Linked DNA regions of Homo sapiens: all the other regions are linked to region 3. The links are contacts of gene promoters, found by promoter capture Hi-C in blood cells and fetal thymus (Javierre and others, 2016). All regions are on one chromosome and are shown on one strand. Each heading gives the region's core, a stretch centred on a gene start or on the middle of the fragment in contact. The rest is flanking DNA. Distances are from core to core; before and after follow the strand shown.

Evidence for each region. The method cuts DNA at HindIII sites, captures the fragments that hold promoters and counts their contacts. A CHiCAGO score of 5 or more calls a contact.
Region 1: a fragment that was not itself captured here is called in contact with the fragment with the promoter of RNF175 in region 3 in 1 of 17 cell types (neutrophils); the score reaches 5.0 in neutrophils.
Region 2: a contact is called between a fragment that was not itself captured here and the fragment with the promoter of RNF175 in region 3, in 2 of 17 cell types (neutrophils and M1 macrophages). The highest score is 6.7, in neutrophils.
Region 4: a fragment that was not itself captured here is called in contact with the fragment with the promoter of RNF175 in region 3 in 1 of 17 cell types (neutrophils); the score reaches 5.1 in neutrophils.

The regions. Positions count from the first base shown.
Region 1 is chr4:153,593,033-153,596,234 of GRCh38, forward strand. It overlaps TMEM131L (transmembrane 131 like), which reads left to right. Exons shown (of 35, transcript NM_001131007.2): 19 at 767-839. Among named protein-coding and RNA genes, the nearest start is that of TLR2, 90 kb to the right of the region's middle. The HindIII fragment of the contact is 2,123 bases long and covers 824-2,946 here.
Region 2 is chr4:153,617,855-153,620,620 of GRCh38, forward strand. The region is part of intron 26 of TMEM131L (transmembrane 131 like); the gene reads left to right. Among named protein-coding and RNA genes, the nearest start is that of TLR2, 65 kb to the right of the region's middle. The HindIII fragment of the contact is 2,135 bases long and covers 295-2,429 here.
Region 3 is chr4:153,758,317-153,761,337 of GRCh38, forward strand. It overlaps RNF175 (ring finger protein 175), which reads right to left and starts at 1,708. Exons shown (of 9, transcript NM_173662.4): 1 at 1,481-1,708. The coding sequence starts at 1,546. The HindIII fragment of the contact is 8,763 bases long and covers 1-3,021 here.
Region 4 is chr4:153,569,219-153,572,388 of GRCh38, forward strand. The region is part of intron 7 of TMEM131L (transmembrane 131 like); the gene reads left to right. Among named protein-coding and RNA genes, the nearest start is that of TMEM131L, 100 kb to the left of the region's middle. The HindIII fragment of the contact is 4,820 bases long and covers 1-3,170 here.

The DNA of each region.
Region 1 (3,202 bases), core at 635-3,134, 170 kb before region 3:
AAAAATTGGCCCTCCTTATTTGAGGGTTCTCCACCTGCGGTTGGTTGAACCTGCAGGTTTGGAACCTGCAGATGCAGAGGGCTGAATGTATATTCTTGTCTAGCATTAAACAGGAAGAGATGATAATTAGTTCATGTCTGTTATATCTTATTTTCACACAATCACAGTTTTACTTAGAATGTTTCCAGCTTCTCGTTTAGTAAGATCGACCCTTATCCCAGGGTTTCTCAGCTTTCGCAGTATTGGTATTTTGGACCAGATGGTTCTACCATTCTGTTTGGTGGGGGTGGGAGGAGCCATCTTGTGTGTTGAAGGATGTTTAGCAGCATTCCTGGCTTCTCCCACTAGATGCCAGTAGGAACTCCCCAGCTGTGACAACCAAAAATGTCTCCAGACGTAGCCCAGTGTTTCCCGTGGGATAAAATTGCCTTTGGTTGAGAGTCACTTTTTTTTTCAAAAAAGTTGCTTTATATTTAGAGCTTCTGTCACCATATGCTTCCTTACATCCTGTGATGCCAAAGTCATTCATTTAGCAATATTTATTGATCATTGACAATATGGCAGATATGGGTGTGGGAATGTGGGGTGGAGCTGGGTGGGAATGTGGGGTGGAATGTCGGGTGGACAGGATGGGATGAATTTTGTGTGTATGTGTGTGCAAATGTACTCACCTATGTATAAATGTATATATGTGCACACACTTATTAAATCTTTCTTTACTGGCAGATGTGAGTGCTGTTTTAAACATTTGCTTTTTTCCTTATAGGTTTGGCACTGATATGCAGATGATTAATTTCACAACTGGTGAATTCCAGCTCACCGAAGCTTGCCCTTACCTGGTAGGATGTTATCCTAAAACAGAAAAAAGAATGCCGACAAACTAGACACATGAGCATACGGGCCTCATTGATTTATGTTTAAAATGTCTTTTATTTACTATATATGGCTCTTTTATTTTGATTCTCTGGGCATTAACGATACATAGCAGATTTTTCCAGTTAACTAGTGCGGTAGGAGCTGGGTTTATGTTAGCTCTAAATCATTTTAATTTGATTATTTAGAATCATGTGAGTAAAGAAATAACAGTTGAACAGAGCTTTGTAGAAAACCATGAAACTTGAGACCCCAGAATTTATAATTCTCTTAAGATTCCTTGGCCCTCAAATTCTTTTTTAGGGCAAGATAAGGAAAAACAAATACATTAAAAAAAATCTTCTCTTACTAAACTGTGTTCCTGTTTTTAGCAAGTCACCCAATTTCTGTGATGTTTACCTTATCTATAAAAAAGGACTACTCTAAAATTCTTAAGCCTGTGGGCAGTCATGAGGTCTTGCCCAAATACTTAGGAGTAGGAGTAAACATGTCATGTGGTGAAGATGCTATTTGCCTGGGGACTTGGCAGCCTTACTTCTCAGTTTCCACTCAGTCATTCCGTGGCTATTTATATACAGCTGAGTGTTGGCCTTACAGGTATTCTGTGTTTGAGATCAATTCAAAAGTGGAGCATCTGTTGACAAAAAATACATACATACACATGTAAACTCACATATGCGGATAACTCTATTTTTACTACACTATATTTAAGCGCCTTGGGTATTTTCTTCTTTCTTTATCTTTATCCCTCCAAAAATATACTGTTGGCTCTAGATTACTTTCAATAACAGAAGGAGGGAGACCACAGATAACCCATTACCACAGACTCTCCTTTCTTTTCTTAAGTGTTGAGGCAGCACTGGGCGAGTTGGGGGGAGTGGTGAAGCCGTGCACCCAGGTGTGGTTTTATTCTTGTTAGCGAGTCTGCCCCTCTCTCTCCTTCTCATTTTCTCCACCAGGAGGTCTTCAAGGCTATTCAGGATAATTAGTCCAAAATACTAAGTGATATCTTGCCTCACTGGTATTGAATCATGTATAGCTTGAAATTCCAAAAATAATGCCCGTTTATTTTAAATCTAAATATTCTATTTAGATGTGAACAAATGATGTAACTCATTTGGAAGAAGTTTTTATCTATGACTGTTTTTCCCAAGAAATATTATATATTTTGGGATAAGAGAAATTATTACTATTGTTAATTTATTACATTGATGAAAAGAATAGTTAATATCAGTGCCTTGAAAACACTGAGTTAAAATTTAACTCAGAATTGTTATTAGAATTCTTCATCATGTAAAGAAAGGCTTCCTGCATTTTGATTTTGCTGATTTGCTTTTAGAAATATAGTTCCTTGGGTTAAGAACATTGGAGTTTTTTATATACCCTAAAAATGTCAGTGCCTGGCATATAAGAACCATTTAATAGAGGTGCTGTTTTTACTATAAGTTTAACACCAAAAGTCAGCAGCTTTTAAATTCAGTATTCATATTACCTGCGTAAAGCAGGGTTTCTTCCTTCATGGAGTTTATAATTCTAATAAAAATGAATCAAATAATCAAATACTATTACTATTCTCTTTTTCAGATGGCATGGGTAACACTAGCAATAACTGAAACATAAAATTAAAAGTTAAAAACAAAGAGAAATAATATTCTTCAGGATTATATATTAGCTCTAAGAAGTGATACATTGCATTGTTTTTAGTGAGATGGAGCTAGAAAAAGCAGTGGAAAGAGGGAAAGTCCACTTACCAAAAAGATAAAAAGAATTAAACCTTGGATACTAAACTTAGAGCACAAGTTTTATGCCAAAAAAAAAAAAAAACACGACATCTTGGAGAAAATAGAGGAAGATGTGAATAAATAAAGATCTTTCTTCTGACTGGAGATACTAAATATAATAAAGATGATTTCTATATAAACTTAAATTCAGTATAAAGAATTTATATAAAGAGATCTTTGGGTTGTCCAGTGGTGGGTGAGTGGTCTTGTCAGATTGCTCTAGCATTCAAGCAGAGGCTGTTGGGTCTGTTTTCTGATTGATGTTGTACATTCAAAGCATCTTTGTGTAGAAAGCTTCTAGCCCCAACTTCCATTCAAACCAGGAAGCAAATCCCCTCTCCAGCATCTGTGTGAGGTTGTCTTGTAGTCTCTGCCTATATTTCTTAGCTATGGCTCAGAAGCTGTTTATTGGAGTGAACTCTCAGGATAAGCAAGTTCTAACAGGTTGATTAGGAGGATCAAATCTGGACATTAAAAGAGAAGCAATCGTGTTTAAACTCTAGGATGCACTTAATGACAATGGAAGCTTGCTTTCTAGGAGTATGACA
Region 2 (2,766 bases), core at 112-2,611, 140 kb before region 3:
TCTTCGTGGTTTTTTTTTTTTTTGCTTTTGCATTTGTTTCATGAATTTATATTTCATGTCCTTTGCCCATTTTTCTTTTGAATGTTTTATTCTCTGTAAGAGCACTTTCTGTGTTAAAGATATCAACTCTATCAAATATTGTGTATCAGAGATTTTTCTTAGTTTGCTAAGAAACTAAGCAAACTTAGTTATTGCTTATTTGATTTTACTTATACACAGTGAGTGGCTTTAAGAATGACTTTTGCAGTAAGTTTGTGATTTCTCTTCTTTGATTTCTTCCTTTGCTTTTAGTAAAGCTTAGGAAATGTTTCTCCACACTGCCATCTGTGAAATCATCACCTCTATCAGAGAGATCAGCAAACGTAACTAGTTCAAATAGTTCAGCTGACGCAGGAGAATCTCTTGAACCCAGGAGTTCAAGACCAGTCTGGGCAACACAGCAAGACCCCATCTCTGCAGAAAATAAAAAAAAAATAGCTGGGCATGGTGGCACTTGCCTGTAGTGTCAGCTACTCAGGAGGCTGAGGTAGGCGGTTGCTTGAGCCTGGGAGGTTGAGGCAGCAGTGAACAATGATTGCCTCACTGCACTCTAGCCTGAGCAACAGAGCAAGACCCTGTCTCCAAAAAAAAAAAAAAAAAACCCACCAAAAAAACCTCCAAATAACTCAATAATAATGATGACGATAACTAAGTCTCATTTAAATGGCTTATGAGATGCTAGGTAATTTAGTCCACACAATGCTTTGAGGATGACTCGGGAAACTGAGGCAGAGAGGCTAAGTAACTTGCCCAAGGTTACACAGCCAGTAATCAAGGCACGAGATTGAAACTAGGCAGTTTAGCCTCCGAGATATACTCCTAATTGCAGCTCCATGTGACTCTTCAGTTTCCTGGTTAGTCCTGTCCTTCTCTCTCTGGGATCCTCTGCACCAGAAAGCAGGCAGGTGGTGCTTTGCTCTTCCTCGGATTTCTTGACAAGTCTGTTGCTGTGTGCTCTGGCTCACTTTCCCTCCCTGTTCTACCTGCTGTCTCCATTGCAGGCCTGTTCTTTCTCAGCCACATCCCTCCTCACTGCCCAGTGCTTCAGAAGGTGCTCCCTGCCACTCTTTCTGGGATATGTCTCACGCCTCTGAATCTAGCTTGTCCTGCATTCCCCTTTTCTTTGTCATACTCACGGAGAACTCTTTGATGCTTCTGGTCACCGAGTCCCGCCTCTCAGTAGTCCTGAATGTACTCACCCTTTCGCTTGCACAGGATGACAGTTCCAACCAGATGGATTTGAGAAAGGCAGCCAAGTATCAGTGACTGCTTACCAGCTCACGCTTTCTCAGACCCCACTGAGAGACTGATTTTTTATTTGTACCTGACCTTGGAGGGATGGATAGGCTCAAGTACTTGCTGTGTCGACAAGCCTTTGCTGGCCCTTGAGTGGACGGGGGTGGGAAACCTCCCCACCAAGTTAGAAAGACACAAAGGAACAATACATGAAGAAATGTGGTGCATGTCTGTTTAACATTAAATCCCGAGTCTGCATATCCTTCAGTTTAGCTTCAAACTTAAGCAATTAGCATAAGGTCCTGTACAATAGGGCTTTGTATGCTTAACTTGTCAGGTTTTTAAAATACCTTCAGAATCAGAAAAAGGTTAATACATACTTATTGGGGGAAACAAAGGTGTATAAAGGAGAAATAAAAAATGTCATAATCCCACTGCCTACGCAGTTACAAATCCCATTTTGCTTCTAGTTTTTATTTACTGTGGTGTGCACATTGCTTTAATAGATGCATAAGGGTTCTAATATCTCAGACATAGAACTTGTAGGTATTGCAGGTTACCTAAAACCTTTTTCTCCTTCCAAGTTATTCGTGTTAGTTGAGTGTATGTTTCAACTTCACAATTCCTACTCTGATTGCTGGGCCAACCTTCTGAAAGAGAAGGTAAAATGAGCCAATCTTTGCTTTCCATGAAGTGTGAATCCTTCAGTCAGTAGGAAGGGGACTCTTCTGGATCTAGGGAATTTGCCTCTGTGAGGTGCCTGGAGAAGATTTATCTTCCTCCTGAAAGGACCTAACACACTGAAGAGTTGTGTCTTTTAAGCCCTTGGGTCTCAGTGTGTGAGCTACCACCACCGCCCACCCACTGACAGTGTCTCTGTTTTAAGAGGGCAACATGTGGAAGGAAGAAGAATAATAAGGATTAGAATATGTTAAAGACTTGAGCTACTTCATAGTTTGAAAGGGCAAAGGGAATCCCTCTCCCGTTGGGTCTGTTAATAGACCATGCCTGACATTGAAAAGAGGAAAAGGCTCCAATTGAGGAAACTATACTTATTTAATACTTATGTATATAATGTTTATGCATCTCATGCTGATGCTTTTCAGAACCACATTTTTGAAACATCAGGCATATTCTTGCCTATTTACCTGAGAAGCTTACACTAGTTTGGAGCATTCTATAGAGATTTGGCTGTTCTCCTAAAGTTCGTCTATAAACAAAAACATAAAGACACAACTTGATCCTAAGTTGAGTTTTTACCTAATTTTTCTTCATAGTACAGTAATTTATGTGAGTTGCACATACCAAATTAACAGGTGAAGGTTGGAGGATTTATTGCTGCAAAGTTAACAGCAAGCTGGTCATAAATTGCTAGCAGATGTTTTTCCTTTTTAGCCTCTTAGGAATTTTATAGGCAACAATTCTTTTTTCTTCTTTTTCTGTGGAGCTTGAGGGAAGTAGCGCAAGAGGGGAAATGAAAACAAACTAGAG
Region 3 (3,021 bases), core at 458-2,957:
ACTGAGACTGCATTTTTAACAGGCTCCCAGGTAATGCCTTGGCTGCTGGTTCCTGGACCACACTGTCTTGCCATATGGGATTAAGGGAAAAGCTGTGAGTCCCTCCTAGGGCAGCCTCAACAGAGAGGCCATACCTCCTGAGGGCAGCAGACTAGGCAGTGATGCCAGCCTTAAGGAAGAGCAAAGATCAGCAGCAAATCCACCAGTACTAGATCCTCTGACACTCCTGGCATGCATTCATCAATTCAGAACCTCCCTTTCGATAATCTGGGTTTGAAACCAGCAAGAAAGTCATGGAGTTTCATTTTAAGTTTCCCCATTTTGTGGTACACAAGCCCCTCCACAGCCTAGCCCACCCTTATTTTTTGCTATAAGCATTCCTGACCCCTAGGTTTCTGGCAGTCAGAGTGGACAGTCCCCTCTCTCTGCCTTGTCCCATGGCCATCCATCCCAATATTAAAAAAAAAAAAATCTCCAAGCCATTTGGTACTGTTGTTCCCTCCATCTAGAATTCTCTGGCCCATGAGGTCAGATCCTGTCCATTCCCCAACACCCAGCTCGAATGCCACGCCCTCACGGGTTGGAGGAGAAGGGGGTTAGTCAGGAGCAAGCCCTTCTCAGAAATCCTACAGTTCTTTGCCTGAACCTATTTTGGGACATTAATCTCTTCCTACCCGCTCTGTGAGTGATTTTTGTTGTTGTTTAAGAGTTATCTTTGCCCTTAAGAGTTATTTTTGTCCTCGTTTTACGGATGGGATTTGGGTTCCTCCAGGTAAGACCTACCCTCCTCCACCCCCAAATCCTCCTGGTACCTGGATGTAGCCTAAGAAGAATTGTCCTATGAACGAAGAATAAATTAAGATTGGGTTTGCAATTGACGCCAGCAGAAGCAGAAATGGGCTAGGTTGAGCACCAGGCAAGACAAGCTGACGATCAGGGTACACATCTTGAATCAGAAACCCTGGGCACAGACCAGCAGTCTGCGTGGTAACAGGCCCTCCGAGTGATTCTGATGACACTCGAGTTTGAGAACCAGGGCGGTCTAGCCAAAAGCCTGCAGTACACCCCTTCCCCTCTCTCGCAGCTTACGACCTTGACCCTGGGCTCTGGGGGCTTCCGCCGAGGAGGGAGGAGGGCACAGGCGGTCACAAAGGAGGGCGGGAGTGGAAGGGGTGAGCCTGGAAGAGAAAGTGCGAGGATGCGAGAAGAGGGATGGAGCGAAGGAAGAGGATCAGAAGGAGGAAAGGAAGGTAGCGGGGAGGGCACAGAAGTGGGGAGGGAGGGAGTGGAGGAGGGACTGGCACCCCGCACGGTGGCATCTTCCAGAAGGTCATGCGTCCGTCCCCACGTCTTTCCAGGGCCGGTTCTCCCCGGTGGGGCCCGGGGTCTTGGAGACCAGTCTGTGCAGCCTGCCCGGCACCAGCGTGAGCCCCGGGACCCCGGCCTGGCGTCCCCCACGCCCGCGCCCCCGCGCCAGTACCTGCTCCTGCTGCGGGGGGGCCTCCAGCACCGGCGCTGCCTTCCGCGCCGCCGTCCCCGCGGCCATGCCTGAGCCACTGTGCCTTCTCCAGGGCACAGCGCCTGCCGGGGAGGGTCCCGCAGAGTCCGCAGAAGGAGGCGCCGCGGGGCCTCGGGAGCCGAGGGTGAGAGCCGGATCTGCGGCGGCGGCGGAGCGGCGGCCCTGCCCGGGTTGTGCGGGGCGGGAGATGGGAGCCTCCCGGCACGCCCCGCCTCCGCCCCCTGCACGCTGGCCAGCGTCCTCCCCAGCAGCGGCCTCGAGGTCCCGGTCGCCAGCACCCCGGTTCCTTCAGAACCTCAGGCCTCCCATTCAGCCAGCCATTGTCGCCGATAAAGCGTCTTGAGCCCTACCGGGTGCGTGTGGCGGGAACCCCGGTTTTGTTACCGGGCGGCAGGACTGGAGGAGGGGTCAGAGGTGGGTAGGGAGAGAGAGGGGAGTAGAGGAGTGAGAAATGGCGGTGGGGGGGCGAGGGGTGCTGGGGAGGAAGAGAAGAGAGAGAGAGAGTTTCCTCTCCCTCAGAGGTGTTTATTAGGAGGCAGGAGTTCGGGTGGCTGTGCAGATACAGACTTTCCTCAGTTATCTGTGCTTCCTCCAAAGATGATGAAGGAGAGAAACTCCAATCTAGGGAGAGCGCAGACCATCTTGGCCCCTATGCTGCTCCAGGCCATGCAGGGCCCCTGCGACGCAAGCATCTTGCCTTTGCCCCTCTACCTCCAGGGTCTCCCCTCCCGCCTTTACAACTTAGGCCTAAGCCTGGCTTCAAGGTTGAGAACAAGCTGGAACGTTTAGGCAAGCCTTTAGAAATACCTGGGTGTTGATTTGGGGAAACAGAAAAGAGGAGCACAGAATTAGATGATGTGTCCTACGAAATACAGCTTACCCCTTTCCAGTTTGTGATGGCTCGTATTTGTCAACACCTACAAAGGAGGTGAACAGACCAAGATGGACATTTCTCTGCCATTGTGGAACGTAGAGCCTAACAGGGGATAGAGAAAAATAAGCATCTAAGTACAATTTATCACGGATGGTGCCTTGGTTTTCCAGCCTTAACTGGGCATCAGAATCCTATGGAGGAATGCTGAGTTTGTTAAAACTCAGAGTGCTGGCCAAGCACAGTGGCTGATGCCTTTAATCCCAGCACTTTGGGAGGACAGGGCGGGCGGATTGCTTGAACCTAGGAGTTTGAGACCAGCCTAGGCAACATGGTGAAGCCCCATCTCTATAAAATATACAAAAGTGAGCTGGGCGTGGTACACCTGTAGCCCCAGCTACTCAGGAGGTTGAGGCTGGAGGATCGCCGGAGCCCGGGAGGTTCAGGCTGCAGTAAGCCGTGATGGAACCACTGCACTTCTGCCTGGACAACAGAGCGAGACTCTATCAAAAAACAAAACAAAAATCTTCAGATTGCTGGAGTTGAGCCCTAGAGTTTTTAATATAGTAGGTCTAGGGTGGAGCCTGAGCATTTGTCTTTTGAACAAGTTTTCAGGTGCCGCTGGGGCTGT
Region 4 (3,170 bases), core at 460-2,959, 190 kb before region 3:
TACCTGTTAAGCCTGAGATCAGCCGATTTCCAGCCCTGTGCTTTCACCTTCTTGGACCTGTTCCTCCTTCCCCTGAGAGCCAACCCCTCCCCTGATTTCTTTGTTGACCCTCCTCGGACTGCTGGGGTCTGCTGTTGAGTTTGCCCCTAGACAGCTTTGAGATGGATTAGATAAATTCACTAATAATCTGCCCCAAGGCCACACTGTAACCAGGGTTGAAAGTTCACATCTTCCTCTGTTTCCCCATCCCAAATTCTTTTCAACTGCAATATCCGGTACAGTTTATCAGAGCTTTTGTGATGCGATTAAATAACAGTGTTAAAATATGGCAGTAGAAAATATCAGCCATATAAAATGCCTGTCATAGAGATGCATAGTGGGAGTGAATAAGAGGGTGAATTCCAAACCAGACCACCTGGCTAAAAATCTTGGTTCTGAGTGACTGTAGCCAAGTTACCTAATCTCCCTGTGTCTCAGTTTATCTGTAAAATATGTAATAATAGCCCTTTCGGATAGGGTTGGTGTAGCAATTGAATCAACCAATTTATTTAAAGAGCTTAGAACTAGTCTCTGGCACATAGCTGAAATGCCTTAATCACTTAACTTTTAAAAAGAACCTTCTGAATATAAACCCTCTTCTATTATGAAACTCCGGGAGAACTTTAATATTCAGAGATTAGAACCCCCAACGGGACATGAAAGTTCAAGGCTATGGTAGTGTATCCAGTTATCTTGGCCTGTGAGTTAACATTCAAAGAATTTGAAGTCCTCTTCAATTTCTTGTTTTTATTTTATTTTATTTTATTTTTATTTTAATCAGAAGTTCTCCATGCCTCTGTGCAGCTGGGGAACTTTTAGTAGCTACAGGCTGGATTTGTTCTTGCTAGAATGTGCGTGGTTTCCCCACGGTTTCAGAATTTATAGTGGTTCAATAGTAAGTCATTTGAGCCTCACTTGAATCTGCAATCTTAATGAAACGCACAAGAATAACAGATTATTAACTTCACATCCAAAAAAATTGGAAAACGTGTCCCCCCACTTCCCAGCCCTCCAAGCACTAATTTTAAGCAGAATCGTCCCTAGTACTTCGATTTACCAAAGAGAGGGAAGGAAGTTGGAGAGAGCCTCACCTTGGTTTCCGCTTGAATTCATGCTGGTTGTGGAGTCTCAGACCTTTGCACTTAACGCTTGGCAGGGAGAGATCACCATTAGTCAGGAGGCTAATCTGGGTACTTTGGGGGTTAGAGAGGAGCCACCTGTGCATACCACTGCTCTACTCAGGAAGGGGCACCTGAGATGCTCTGGCCTTCCCTCAGAGTTTATAAATTTGCCTGGCGGTAGCCGACATACTCGGCCTGCCTTCCTTCTGTTTTCCATGTGTGGATTTCTGTTTCTTCCTTGGGCCCTTGTTTCTGGCATCTCCCGGCACTTTTGTGCTAGTGGTATGGAAGCTGTGTTAGGAGCAGAGCTTCTGCAGTCTGTGGGCAGTGACGTTGAGATCTGTGCACAGGGTGGTTTCCATTGCCTCTCACTGTGGACTTGCGGGGGCTTCTGAAACCTGCTTCTTAGGGAAGTTTGTTTCCTTTTTGTCCACTTATTTCAACTGGAGTGGTGTTCTCAGCAGATGCCCTGAGGTGAGCAGTTGTTGACACTTTGGAAGTGTGAGTCCATCAGGGCCTAGTGGTGATAGTTCCTTCTTTTTCTGTGTTAGTCGGCTGTTCCCCCAGGACTTGCTTGTTCTCCACTGTTCAATTTAACCAGCTTTTTGTGTTGCTCTCTTTCTTTTTAAATTAGTACATTCCTTTAATTTTTTTTTAACTTTTTGGTCTAGATATTTATTTTCCCTTTAGATCTTTCTCTAGATTTTTTTCGGTGTGTTCTCCCAAAGCAAAAGAGATAAAATCAAGTTCTGGGTCTACTAAAAACATCTATAGTTCAAACAAATCTTTTTTCTGTTTGTTGCGTTGCATAATCTTACATAAGAGATACTCTCCTGTCAGCCCAGTATCCCAGTCAGGCCCAGGCTCGGTTTATCTTGTCCTGCCTGGTTCTCCTTTAATGGTTTCCTCTTTGCTGTGCCTTCTTTTGATTGAGTCCTAAATGCCATAAACTTCTCAAGCATATTCCCTCAGGGCACAAGCAGTAATTGTATCTCCATTGAAAAATGCACTGAGCATTCCACACTCACCTTCCTGGTTTCCTTTCACCTGTCCAGGTTTGTGTAAGGCTTGGTGTAGCCGCCTCAGTCTTTGATGGTAGAGCTCCTTAATTGTTTACTATGGGGGATTTAAGTGTATTTCTTCACAGTTCCTAGAACTCAATCATGGTTTCTTAATTATTTTTATTTTTACTTTTGTTTTAAGACAGGGTCTTGCTCTGTTGCCCAAGCTAGAATGCAGTGGTGCAGTTACAGTTATTACAACCTTGGCCTCCCGAGCTCAGGTGATCCTCCCTCCTCAGCCTCCTGAGTAGCTGGGACTACAGGCATGTACCACCATGCCCAGCTAAGTTTTATATTTTTTTGTGGAGACAGGGTTTCACCATGTTGCCCAGGCTGGTTTCAAACTCCTGAGCTCAAGTGATCCACCTGCCTCGGTCTACCAAAGTGCTAGGATGACAGGTGTGAGCCACCATGACTGGCCTATTTTTTGAGGAACAATTCCAGTCTGCTGAGATCTTGCCTGTCTTCCTTTATTAGAGTCTTTTAAAAGCTCCATTTAGCACAGATATATTTCATTTTGAATACCTGCACAATGAGATCTCAAAGTATCTCCACTTCTCTTTTTATATCTGTTTAACCTGACTTTCTAGATGTTGTTTTCTTTTTTTTTTCCTTTTTAGTTGGCATGTAATAATTGTACTTAGGTATGGGATAGAGAGTGCTGTTTTGATACTGTATACAATGTGTAACGATCCACTCAGGGTAATTAGCGTATTATCACCTCAGACATTTATCATTTCATTATGTTGTGAACATTCAAAATCCTCCCTTCTGGCTTTATTGTAGTCAACTGCAGTCACCCTGTAGTGCTGTAGAACACCAGAACTCATTCTGTCTGTCTAGCTGTAACTTTGTGTTGGTTACCCAGCAAGGTTTGGTTATTTCTTTTTTGTTTTGTTTTGTTTTTTGAGACAGAGTTTCGCTCTTGTTGCCCAGGCTGGTGTGCAGT